2 separate regions of the Homo sapiens genome follow, and region 1 is linked to region 2. Evidence: promoter capture Hi-C in human tissues and cell types (Jung and others, 2019). All regions are on one chromosome and are shown on one strand. The core of a region is centred on a gene start or on the middle of the fragment in contact, and the rest is flanking DNA. Distances in the headings are between cores, read along the strand shown. Region 1 has its middle 15 kb from the start of OR7C2. Region 2 holds the start of CASP14 (caspase 14).

Region 1 (5,714 bases), core at 2,175-4,674, 120 kb after region 2:
ACAATAAAATAATATAGACCATGACACCAAATCTTTCACTCAGATCAACAAACCTCATTACACATGAATAACAAGCTTCCACACTTCAATGAGTAGATGTACATCATTGAAAACAAACCTTCCATAGAAATTTAGTACATAATTGAAAATGTTACTCTATCATATTTAACGTCATCTCTAACTCTAAGTCCATGTAAAGCCAATTGATTTTTGCCAGTTTGTCTTTCTGTGTAGACTATGCTTGGAGCATTTATTTGATGAGCAACTTTTGACTAAGTACTCAGTGCCAGTAAATATAGTAGAATTCATGAATACTGAGTTCAAGAAGAGAACAGGATCCTAATGGGAGTGAAAAATCCCATAACCAGCTATAAAATACCCTAGTATGTTTAAGTCTACATTATCAGGAAGATCAATTAAGGTAGTGATACAGAAATGAATGACAAACACAAAAAGTGAAAAACCATAGCCTCAGAAATTCTTCTCCAATAAAATTACATAAATGGCCTCAGTGCCAAGCGTAGTTTATTCCATAGGAATAGTACAACTCATCACCCTATGAGGCAAATGGGAATCTCCAAATTGTTTCTGACCCAAGGTTGGGAATAACTTTGAGAAAGGAGGAAAACAAGGGGAAAATCTGTTGAATATTAGAGAGAGAGGAAAGCTTAATAATAGGAGTTGCTTAAATTTGATGAAGCAGTTGAGATAAAAGAAATGGAAACTTCAGGAAATAAATAGAGCAATTTCCAGCCCGGCGCAGTGGCTCACGCCTGTAATCCCAGCACTTTGGGAGGCAGAGGCGGTTGGATCACGAGGTCAGGAGATCAAGACCATCCTGGCTAACATAGTGAAACCCCGTCTCTACTGAAAATACAAGAAATTAGCCGGGTGCGGTGGTGGGTGCCTGTAGTCCCAGCTACTCGGGAGGCTGAGGCAGCAGAATAGCATGAACCCAGGAGGTGGAGCTTGCAGTGAGCGGAGATGGCGCCACTGCACTCTGGCCTGGGCAGCAGAGCAAAACTCTGTCTCAAAAAAAAAAAAAAAAAAAAAAAAGAGCAGTTTCCACTTCCATGATCTGATTAAACAACAGCAATATCTGGCTCTGAGGCTTTGAGCCTTGCAATCATGGATATAGCTTCAGCCCTAGGACAACTGGCCCTTTTCTAGTTTCCCTCCCAAAGAATTCTTCAGAGCCCTCTTTATGTCCTTATTCCTCAGGCTGTAGATGAAGGGGTTCAGCATGGGGGTGACCACAGTGTACCTCACTGAGGCTATTGCACCTGAGTGTGAGTTGTGGGATGCAGCCGAGCTAAGGTACACTCCTAGGCTTGTACAGTAAAACAAGGAGACAACTGAGAGGTGAGACGGACAGGTGGAAAATGCCTTATACTTCCCTTGAGCTGATGAGATTGCACATATGGAGGAAACTATCTTAGAGTAAGAGTAAAGGATCCCAGCGAGACATCCCCCCACCCAGCAGCACAGCTGCCAGATACATCACCATGTCATTAAGAAAGGTGTCAGAACAGGCAAGGTGGATGACCTGATTAAGTTCACAGAAAAAGTGGGGGATTTCCAACTCTCTGCATAAGGACAACTGCAGCACCATTAAGCTATGTAATAAGGAATGCAAGACACTTGTGATCCAGGATACCAGAACCAGCAATCCACAGAGTTGAGGGTTCATGATGACCGTGTAGTACAGGGGGTGACAGATGGCCACAAACCGGTCATAGGCCATCACAGTCAGGAGGAAGCTGTCCAATCCTACAAAATGTATGAAAAAGTACATCTGGGTGATGCAGCCTGCAGAGGTGATGACTTTGCTCTGTGCCTGGATATTCACCAGCATCTTTGGGACCCTGGTGGAGGCAAAACAGATGTCTACAAAGGACAGGTTGGAGAGAAAGAAGTACATGGAGGTGTGGAGGTGGGAGCATAAAATGATAACCAGGATGATAAGCAAGTTTCCAAATACAATGATGAGGTACATGGATAAGAACACTCCAAAGAGAAATCGTTATGCTCTGGTTTCTCTTCAAATTGTATAAATCTTTTGCCTTTTACCAAAGAGAAATCGTTGCAGTCTGGGTTCTTCTGAAAATCCCAGAAGTCGAAATTCTGAAATTCGTGTATCATTCTCTGGTTCCATGTGGTAGAGGTGACTATAAAAAAAAAAAAAAGAGAGAGAGAGAAAATACATGACATAAGCATGCTTTTTTCACCCATCAGAAAAGCTATTATTTATATCCTACAGTCAGCAAGTTAATTTCTATATTTTGTGTGTGAATCTGGTCTACTTTATGAGATCTCCCATCCCATCTCTGCTTAGGAATTCCTTTCCCATGATGCTCAACTTTTCCCCAAATGGTCATTTATTTAAAAACTTTGCCGGGTGCGGTGGCTCACACCTGTAATCCCAGCACTTTGGGAGGCAGAGGTGGGCGGGTCACCTGAGGTCGGGAGTTCAAGACCAGCCTGACCAACATGGAGAAAACCCATCTCTACTAAAAATACAAAGTTAGCCGGATGTGGTGGTGCGTGCCCGTAATCCCAGCTACTCGGGAGGTTGAGGCAGGAGAATCATTTGAACCTGAGAGGCAGAGGTTGCAGGGAGCCAAGATGGCGCCATTGCACTCCATCCAGCCTGGGCTACAAGAGCAAAACTCCATCTCAAACAAAACAAAACAAAACAAAACAAAAACCAATACTTTAATGATAAATTCTTTCATGGATTTGAGGAATTTAAATTGAGTGTTGTCAACGTTCCAGGCTCTGTCTAGACAATGAGTGAACAGTGCTGAAAAACAAAAGTTCCTACAGTGAAGTATGGAGAAGAATACAAGTAAATCATATACTGTGTCAGATGGTAACCAGGGCTAGCAAGAAAAAGAAAGAAGGTAAAAAGGCGAGGGTGGATAGAGGATGTTAATTTTCCTAGGTGTCCAGAGAATACTAGCAGTCAAGGTGATAGGTGCCCATCAATAGTGGATTGGACAAAGAAACTGTGGTACTTATACACCATGGAATACTAGGCAGCCATAAAAAAGAATGAAATCATGTCCTTTCCAGCTACATGGATGAAGCTAGAGGCCGTTATTCTGAGCGACCTAATGCAAGAACAGAAAACCAAATATCGCATGTTCTCACTTATAAATGGTAGCTAAACATCGAATATACGTGAACACAAAGATGGGAACAATTGACACTGGAGACCGCTGGACAGAGGATGGAGGGAGGGGGATGTGAGCTGAAGAACCATCTGTTGGGTCCTATGCTTACCTCCTGAGTGATGGGATTGTTAGGACCCGAAGCCTCAGCATCACACAATTTACCCGTGTAACAAACCTGCACATGTACCCTTTAATCTGTAAGAAAAGCTGAAATTTTTAAAAAGAGAAATGAGACCTCAAGGAAGACAGGGCGGGAGCCATGAGGATATCTGGGAATGTGTGTGCCCAGCAGAAAGAATGGCCGGTGCAAAGGTGTAGAGGAAGGTTTCAGATGTTCAAGGCCAACGAGGAAGCCAGTGTGGCAGGGAAATCTGTGAGAGGTAAGTGATGGGAGATGGTGTCAGAAGATGTTGCACTATGAGGTGACTTCATTGCTGCTGAAGCTTCAAAATACAAGAAGTCCCTCTGCCCAGATTTTGTTTGGTTTGGTTTGGTTTTGAGACAGAGTCTCACTCTGTCGGCCAGGCTGGAGTGCAGTGGCATGATGTGGGTTCACTGCAACCTCCACCTCCTGGGTTCAAGAGATTCTCCTGCCTCAGCCTCCCAAGTAGCTGAGACTACAGGTGCCTGCTACCATGCCCTGCTAAGATTTATATTTTTTGGTAGAGATGGGGCTTCACCATGTTGGCCAGGCTGGTCTCAAACTCCTGACCTCAAGTGATCCTTTTGTCTCGGCCTCCCAAAGTGCTGGGATTACAGGCGTGAGCCACCACGCCCAGGCTTGTCCTGATGTTTTCTATTTGCACTTTAATAAATTGGCTCCATGTCCCATGAATTGAAATGCATCCTTTGTTTATTTCCATATGCTGCCTTGCGTGCTGACCTCTGTATTCTGAGTCACCTTTTGGAATATATTGAGTCCAGGTCCCTTTACTTTTTTTTTTTTTTTTTTTTTTTTTGAGACGGAGTCTCGCTCTGTTGCCCAGGCTGGAGTTCAGTGGCGCGATCTCGGCTCACTGCAACTTCCGCCTCCCAGGTTCACACCATTCTCCTGACTCAGCCTCCCAAGTAGCTGGGACTACAGGCGCCCGCCACCACGCCCGGCTAATTTTTTTGCATTTTTAGTAGAGGCAGGGTTTCACCATGTTAGCCGGGATGGTCTCGATCTCCTGACCTCGTGATCTGCCTGCCTCGGCCTCCCAAAGTACTGGGACTACAGGCGTGAGCCACTGCGTCCCTCTACTCTTAAAAGGGATATCTCTACCTCATTTGTATGTCATATTCTTTTATGCCTAGGTCTTTGCAACTTTAATTATTTATCCATGTTGAAAACATTAAATTATTGCTACTTCATATCTTGTTTCAGTTAATTAGCAAGGCTCCTTTCAATTCTGTTTAATGATGTTATTTTGAAATCACTCTCCCCACTAAAGACAGACACACATATGCACAATTAGTACAGACACACACACAGGCACACACTTGAAGCTGAATGAGGACTCCTGGGACTGTGTTTATAGCAAGCTGTTCTCACCTCCAGTCACACCATTAATATTAGAGAGGAATGGAAATGAAGCAAGCTTTCAATATCAGATTATCTTTCCATTTTTTTGTATGGTCATGTTCTGTCTTCTGTTTAAAAAAACATAAAAAATTATAAAAATACAACAATTTTGCTTGATAAACATACAGAGGATAATTAAATAAAACCCAAGGGGGGAAAATCTAATAACCTCAGATAATTCCTGGGAGACTAGGAAGAAGAAATAGCTTGCTTGAATGAATTAATGGCATTCGCAGTGACCTGGATGAGATTGGAGACAATTATTCTTTTTTTTTTTTTTGAGACAAAGTCTCCCTCTTTTCCCCCAGGCTGGAGTGCAATGGCATGATCTCAGCTCACTGCAACCTCCACCTCCCACGTTCAAGTGATTCTCATGTCTTAGCCTCCTGAGTAGCTGGGATTACAGGCACCTGCCACCACGCCCGGCTAATTTTTATAGTTTTAGTAGAGATGGGGTTTCACCCTGTTGACCAGGCTGGTCTCGAACTCCTGACCGAAGGTGATCTGCCCGCCTCAGCCTCCCAAAGTGCTGGGATTACAGGCATGCGCCACTGCGCCCAGCTGGAGACAATTATTCTAAGTGAAGTAACTCAGGAATGGAAAACCAAACATTGTATGTTCTCACTCATAAGTAGGAGCTAAGTTATGAGGATGCAAAGGCATAAGAATGACTCAATGGACTTTGGGGACTCAGGAGGAAAGGGTGGGAAGGGGGTGAGGGATAAAAGACTACAAATTATGTGCAGTGTATACTGCTTGGGTGATGGGTGCACCAAAATCTCACAAATCACCACTAAAGAACTTACTCATAAAAAAAAAGAACTTACTCATGTAACCAAACACCACCTGTTCCCCAGTAACCCATGGAAATAAAAAAAAAAAAAAAATTAAGAAAAAGAAAAAAGAGAAAAGTTTCCTTGGTTACAGCCATACTCCAGCTCCCAATATGTCTCCTTGATACTCAGCCAAAATAA
Region 2 (5,288 bases), core at 619-3,118:
TTATTGTATTTTTAGTAGAGACGGGATTTCACTGTGTTAGCCAGGATGGTCTTGATCTCCTGACCTCATGATCTGCCCACCTCAGCCTCCCAAAGTGCTGGGATTATAGATGTGAGCCACTGCACCCCACCGGGAATGCTTTTTTTTTTTCTATCTAGATCCTTCTCTGACAATTTTGGTGGCATAATATCTGCTATGCCTTCCCCCATCAACCATCCATTCATCTATGTTTTTATCCATCTATCTATCCAGTCACCCATCAATTCATTCATCTATCCATCTACCATCTATCCATTAATTCATCATCTATCCATCCATTCACCCACTCACCCTTCCATCTATTCATCTGTCCATCTACTTATCTATTAATCAGTCATCCCATCCACCCATCCTTCCACCCGCACATCTATCTAGTCATCCATCAATCCAATTTAACATCCATCCTTTTATTCATCAACCCATCCACCAATTTATCTTTCCACTTACCTATCTATCCACTCATCCATCCATCCATCCACCCACTCACACATCTATTCATCCGTCTGTCTACCCATCTATTAATCAGTCATCCCATATACCCATTCATTCTTCCATCAACCCATTTATCTACCCATCCATCTATCTATCCATCCACTTATTCATCCAACCACTCATTCATTCATCCATCCATCCATCCATTCATCCATTATCTCTCTCTGTCTTCCATCCCTCCATCTATTCTATCTTCCAACTATCCCTCCATCTAGCCCTCCTTCTATCCATTCCTTCATCCATCATCTCTATCTTCCATCTATCCATCCACCTATTTACTTATCCATCTACCCACCCACCCATCCATCCATCCATCCATCAATCCATCCACCCACCCACCCACCTACCCAGCAAATATTTTCTGGGTATCTATTATGTGTTATGCACTTAGAATCCATTAAGTAAGACAGACATGCTCCCTGACTTTCTGTCCTTCTGTAGCTCTAGTCTGTGACAGAAATGAATATTAAATCTCTCTCTCTCTCTCTCTCTCTCACACACACACACTCACACACACACACAGCAAGTGCTGTGACGAAAGAGGAGCCAAAGATTGTGAGGGAGGAAGTGGAAGGAGCATAGCCCTGGAGCCAGAACCGAATCCTGCCTCAGTCCCTTCCCAGCTGTGTGACCTTCGGCATCTCACTCTCCTCTCTGAGACTCGATTTTCCCATCCGCAAAGGACCTGGGGAGAGCTCTAGGTGCTTAACAGCAATGGTGACCCAGGTAGGTTTTAGGATCCCTCTTGACCTCCTGGAACTTTCCTCTTCCTTCTCTGGACTCTCACAGCTCTGCTTGCTCCTACTTGAATTACAGCAGTGTTTTTGATTCTTACTCTCATGGCTGAACTGGCAGCTCAGTTTTCAGGACTGAAAGCCTGACTTCATTATCTCTGTCTCCATCATGGCCAACAGTGTGGCAGGGAGCACAGAGGTGGTGTTGGAGAGAATTTGCTGAGTAAACAAATAAGAAAAAAATGAACAGATGAAAAGAAAGAGGGGATGGATGGAAATTTCTTCCATTCTGCCAAAACTGGCCAGAGCATTAATTCATGAAGGGAGAGGGAGCGTATGTGTGTATGTGCGTGTGTGTGTGTGTGTGTGTGTGTGTGTGTGTGTGAGAGAGAGAGAGAGAGAGAGAGAGAGAGGCTAATATCCACCAAATCACTTACCAACTCTAGAGGCAGCTGTTCCTCAAGGCCAAGTTCAATCTCACTACTCTCCTAGTTGCCAATACTGAGCTGGGCACCGAGGAGGAGTCAGGCCCACGTACTGATCTTGGAGAAGGGGCTGACAGTGTGGAATCTCCCGGGGTTTCTCCTGAGAAGCCTGGTCTATGAATCGGGTGGCACAATCACCTGGCCCTTTATTGTCGGTGAGTTTTCTGTCACTCAAGAAACCTCATGACACACCCTTGGCACACAGCTGTGGTGTGGAAATGGAGCCAACGCCAATGGGATGAGTGATCGCAAGGCTGAGGGGACTCCCTCTGGCAAAGGTGGCCTAGGCAGAGAGTCTAAATGAGTCAGATGTCTGTGCCAGCCCAGCCACAACCTCTCCCAACCCCCATCCCATAGCCAGCCCATCTGGTTATTACCATCATCATTATGCCTAGTTTATTCATCTCACCTTCCACTGTGTAGATAACACCGACTTCACTTAGTTATTATCTCATCGAGTCTTCAAGAGTCTAGACAGATCAGTATTTTTGCTCCCATTTTGCAGATGGAGAAACTGAGGCTCATAGAGGTGAAATGACTGCCCAAGGTCAGCAATTGGCACAGTTGGCATTCAACCCTATAAGGGGTGAGGTGTGGTGGGTCACGTCTGTAGTCCCAGCGCTTTGGGAGGCCAAGGCAGGAGGATCGCTTGAGGTGAGGAGTTTGAGACCAGCCGGGGCATAGTGAGACCCTGTCACTAAAATAATAATAATAATAAAAATGATGGCATATACCTATAGTCCTAGCTACTCAGGAGGCTGAGGTAGGAGGCTGGCTTGAGCCTAGGAGTTTGAGGCTGCAGCGAGCTAAGATTGTGCCTCTGCACTCCAGCCTGGGTGACAGAGCAAGACTCTGTCTTAAATATAAAAACAAACAAACAACCCCTAAAATGTTCCAGCCCAGTTGCCTTAACTGATGCATCATGATGATTCCTCTCTTCCTCCTCCTCTTATTATTTTTCAGCCATTTTGTTTCATTTTATTTCTTATGTTAATAGTGAAACCAAAGGCGAACCTGATTAAGCCCTCCAGACTTAATCTGCCTTGCGTTTAATTGCTTACTTACTTTTAATTGCTTACTTATAGTTGATCTTAAAAGCGCCACTAGCAAGTCACGTAGCCAAATAATGCATAACTAAACTCCCACTGGCTTCCTTACAGATAACATTTTTGTCTGTGGGACACTATAGTAATGGGTGCTTAAAGTTGTTTTTCAGGAACTAGGTAGGAGGCAGCTCTTGTTTAGTTTAAGCCAGTGGAGATCACTGACCCTTCAACTGCACCTATGTGGGTAGCTGATATCAGAGGGCCGTAAACTCCACCTTCAGATCATGCTAAATGCTATTTTTTGCACAAATGTCCTATCTAAAGCCATGTAGCTCAACCATGCTTGCTCAGAAATTCTGATTACCTCACCTTCCCTACCTGCCAGTCACCTTTCTCCGTACTTTAGATCACCCCGTTTTCTATCCCATAAGCACCCTCAAACCCTATTTTTGGGGAGGAGAATTTGAGACCTGTTTTACCACCTCGTCGCTTAATTGCCTCATGAACGAACTCTTCCTCTTCTGCAAAATCTGTCATTACATTGATTGGCTTGCTGCACAGAGGAAGAACAAACTCGGTTCGATAGCAACAGCTTAAATGAGATATAATTTACGTATTATACAATTCACCCACCTGAAGTGTGCAATCCAGTGGGTTTCAATATATTCACAGTGATGCAACCATTGCGTCAGTTCATTTTGGAACATTTTGTTTTTTCTTTTTTCGGAGATAAGATCTGTCACCCAGGCTGGAGTGCAGTGGAGCGATCACAGCTCACTGCAGCTTAAAACTCCTGGGCTTATTCGATCCTTCCACCTCAGCCTCCTGGGCAGCTGGGACTACAGGTGTGCACGTACATGCCTTGCTACTTTTTTCCTCAAGATTTTTTGTAGAGACAAAGTCTTGCTGTGTTGCCCAGGCTGGTCTCGAACTTCTGGCCTCAAGGGATCCTCCCCACTCGGCCTCCCAAAGTGTGAGATTACAGGCGCGGGCCACCACACCTGGCTCATTTTAGAACATTTTTATCACCCCCCAAAAGAATCCCAGTACCCTTTAGCTATCACTCCCAATCTCTCCATACATCCCAGCCTTAGGCAACCACTAGCCGAGTTTCTGTCTCTGCAGGTTTCCCTGTTCTGGATATTTCACAGAAATAGAATCATACACTATGTGATTTTTGTGTCTGGCTTCTTTCATTCAGCATGATGTTTTCAAGAACAGTATTGCAGGGATGTTGGTTTGTTGTCTCCTGTTTCATTTTGTTTTGGTTTTTAGAGAGCCAAGTGTTAGATGTCTTTCAGCAAACCATTGCAGACACTCCCATTCCAATTCCTTCCCCTAAGATCCAGCCTTCTTAGCTGACCAGATCCTATAAATCAATGAGATTTCAAGGAGGAGGAAGATAGCATCCACATGGTAGCATATATTAGAACTTCATCCCTTTTTCTGACTGAATAATAGTCCATTGTACAGATATACCTCATTTTGTTTATTTATTCATCTGTGGAGGAACATTTCAGTTGTGTTAGGCTTTTGGCTATTTGAAGGATGCTGTTATACATATTTATGTACAAGTTTTATGTGGATTTTTTTTTGAGACAGGGTCTCACTAAGTTGCCCAGGCTGGAGTGCAATGGTATGATCTCAACTCACTACAACCTCTGCTTCCCGGACTCAAGCAATTCTCCAGCCGCAGCCTCCCCAGTAGCTGGGACTACAGGCGTGCACCACCATGCCAGGCTAATTTTTTGTGTGTTTTTTGTAGAAACTGGGTTTTGCCATGTTGCCCAGCTGTTGTTAAACTCCTGAGCTGAAAACGATCCACCTGCCTGGGCCTCCCAAAGTGCTGGGATTACAGGCGTGAGCCACCACGCTTAGCCTGATGCATGTTTTAATTCCATTCCTAGTAGTGCAACTTTCTAGCAATACAGAAATGTTTTTTTTAGCAAAACTGGCCTGTTCTCATCCTTCCAATTCTTCCCTTTGCTTCCAGGTAGCCCAGGCACAAGACTGAGCAATTTCCCTTCAGTGCCTATTGCCGCATTGACTTACACACATTCGCAGTGTTAGTTACATAGGTGGGCCCGTTCTACAAAATTGTCCTGTTACTTGCCTTGTTCACCGAATTATGTCTGGGTCATCTTTCCATGTTAGCACATATGGAACAAACTCAATTTTTTTGTGTTCTTTAAACAACTATTGAGAATAACCTATGTGAAGAAAAGTGCGCGACTCTTTTTTTTTCTTTCTTTTTTTTTTTTTGAGACGGAGTCTCGCTCTGTCACCCAGGCTGGAGTGCAGTGGCGTGATCTTGGCTCACTGCAACCTCTGCCTTCCGGGTTCATGCCATTCTCCTGCCTCAGCCTCGCGAGTTGCTGGGATTACAGGCACTCACTACCACACCTGGCCAATTTTTGTATTTTTAGTGGAGATGGGGTTTCACCATGTTGGTCAGGCCTGTCTCGAACTCCTGACCTCGTGATCTGTCCCTC

What was found. Contacts are between HindIII fragments. The study calls those that stand out against the background at their distance.
Region 1: a fragment that was not itself captured here is called in contact with the fragment with the promoter of CASP14 in region 2 in 9 of the 25 tissues and cell types used here (aorta, bladder, dorsolateral prefrontal cortex and 6 more).

The regions. Positions count from the first base shown.
Region 1 is chr19:14,923,493-14,929,206 of GRCh38, reverse strand. It overlaps the pseudogene OR7A15P. Among named protein-coding and RNA genes, the nearest start is that of OR7C2, 15 kb to the left of the region's middle. The HindIII fragment of the contact is 7,045 bases long and covers 1-5,714 here.
Region 2 is chr19:15,046,060-15,051,347 of GRCh38, reverse strand. It overlaps CASP14 (caspase 14), which reads right to left and starts at 1,868. Exons shown (of 7, transcript NM_012114.3): 1 at 1,703-1,868. The HindIII fragment of the contact is 29,360 bases long and covers 1-5,288 here.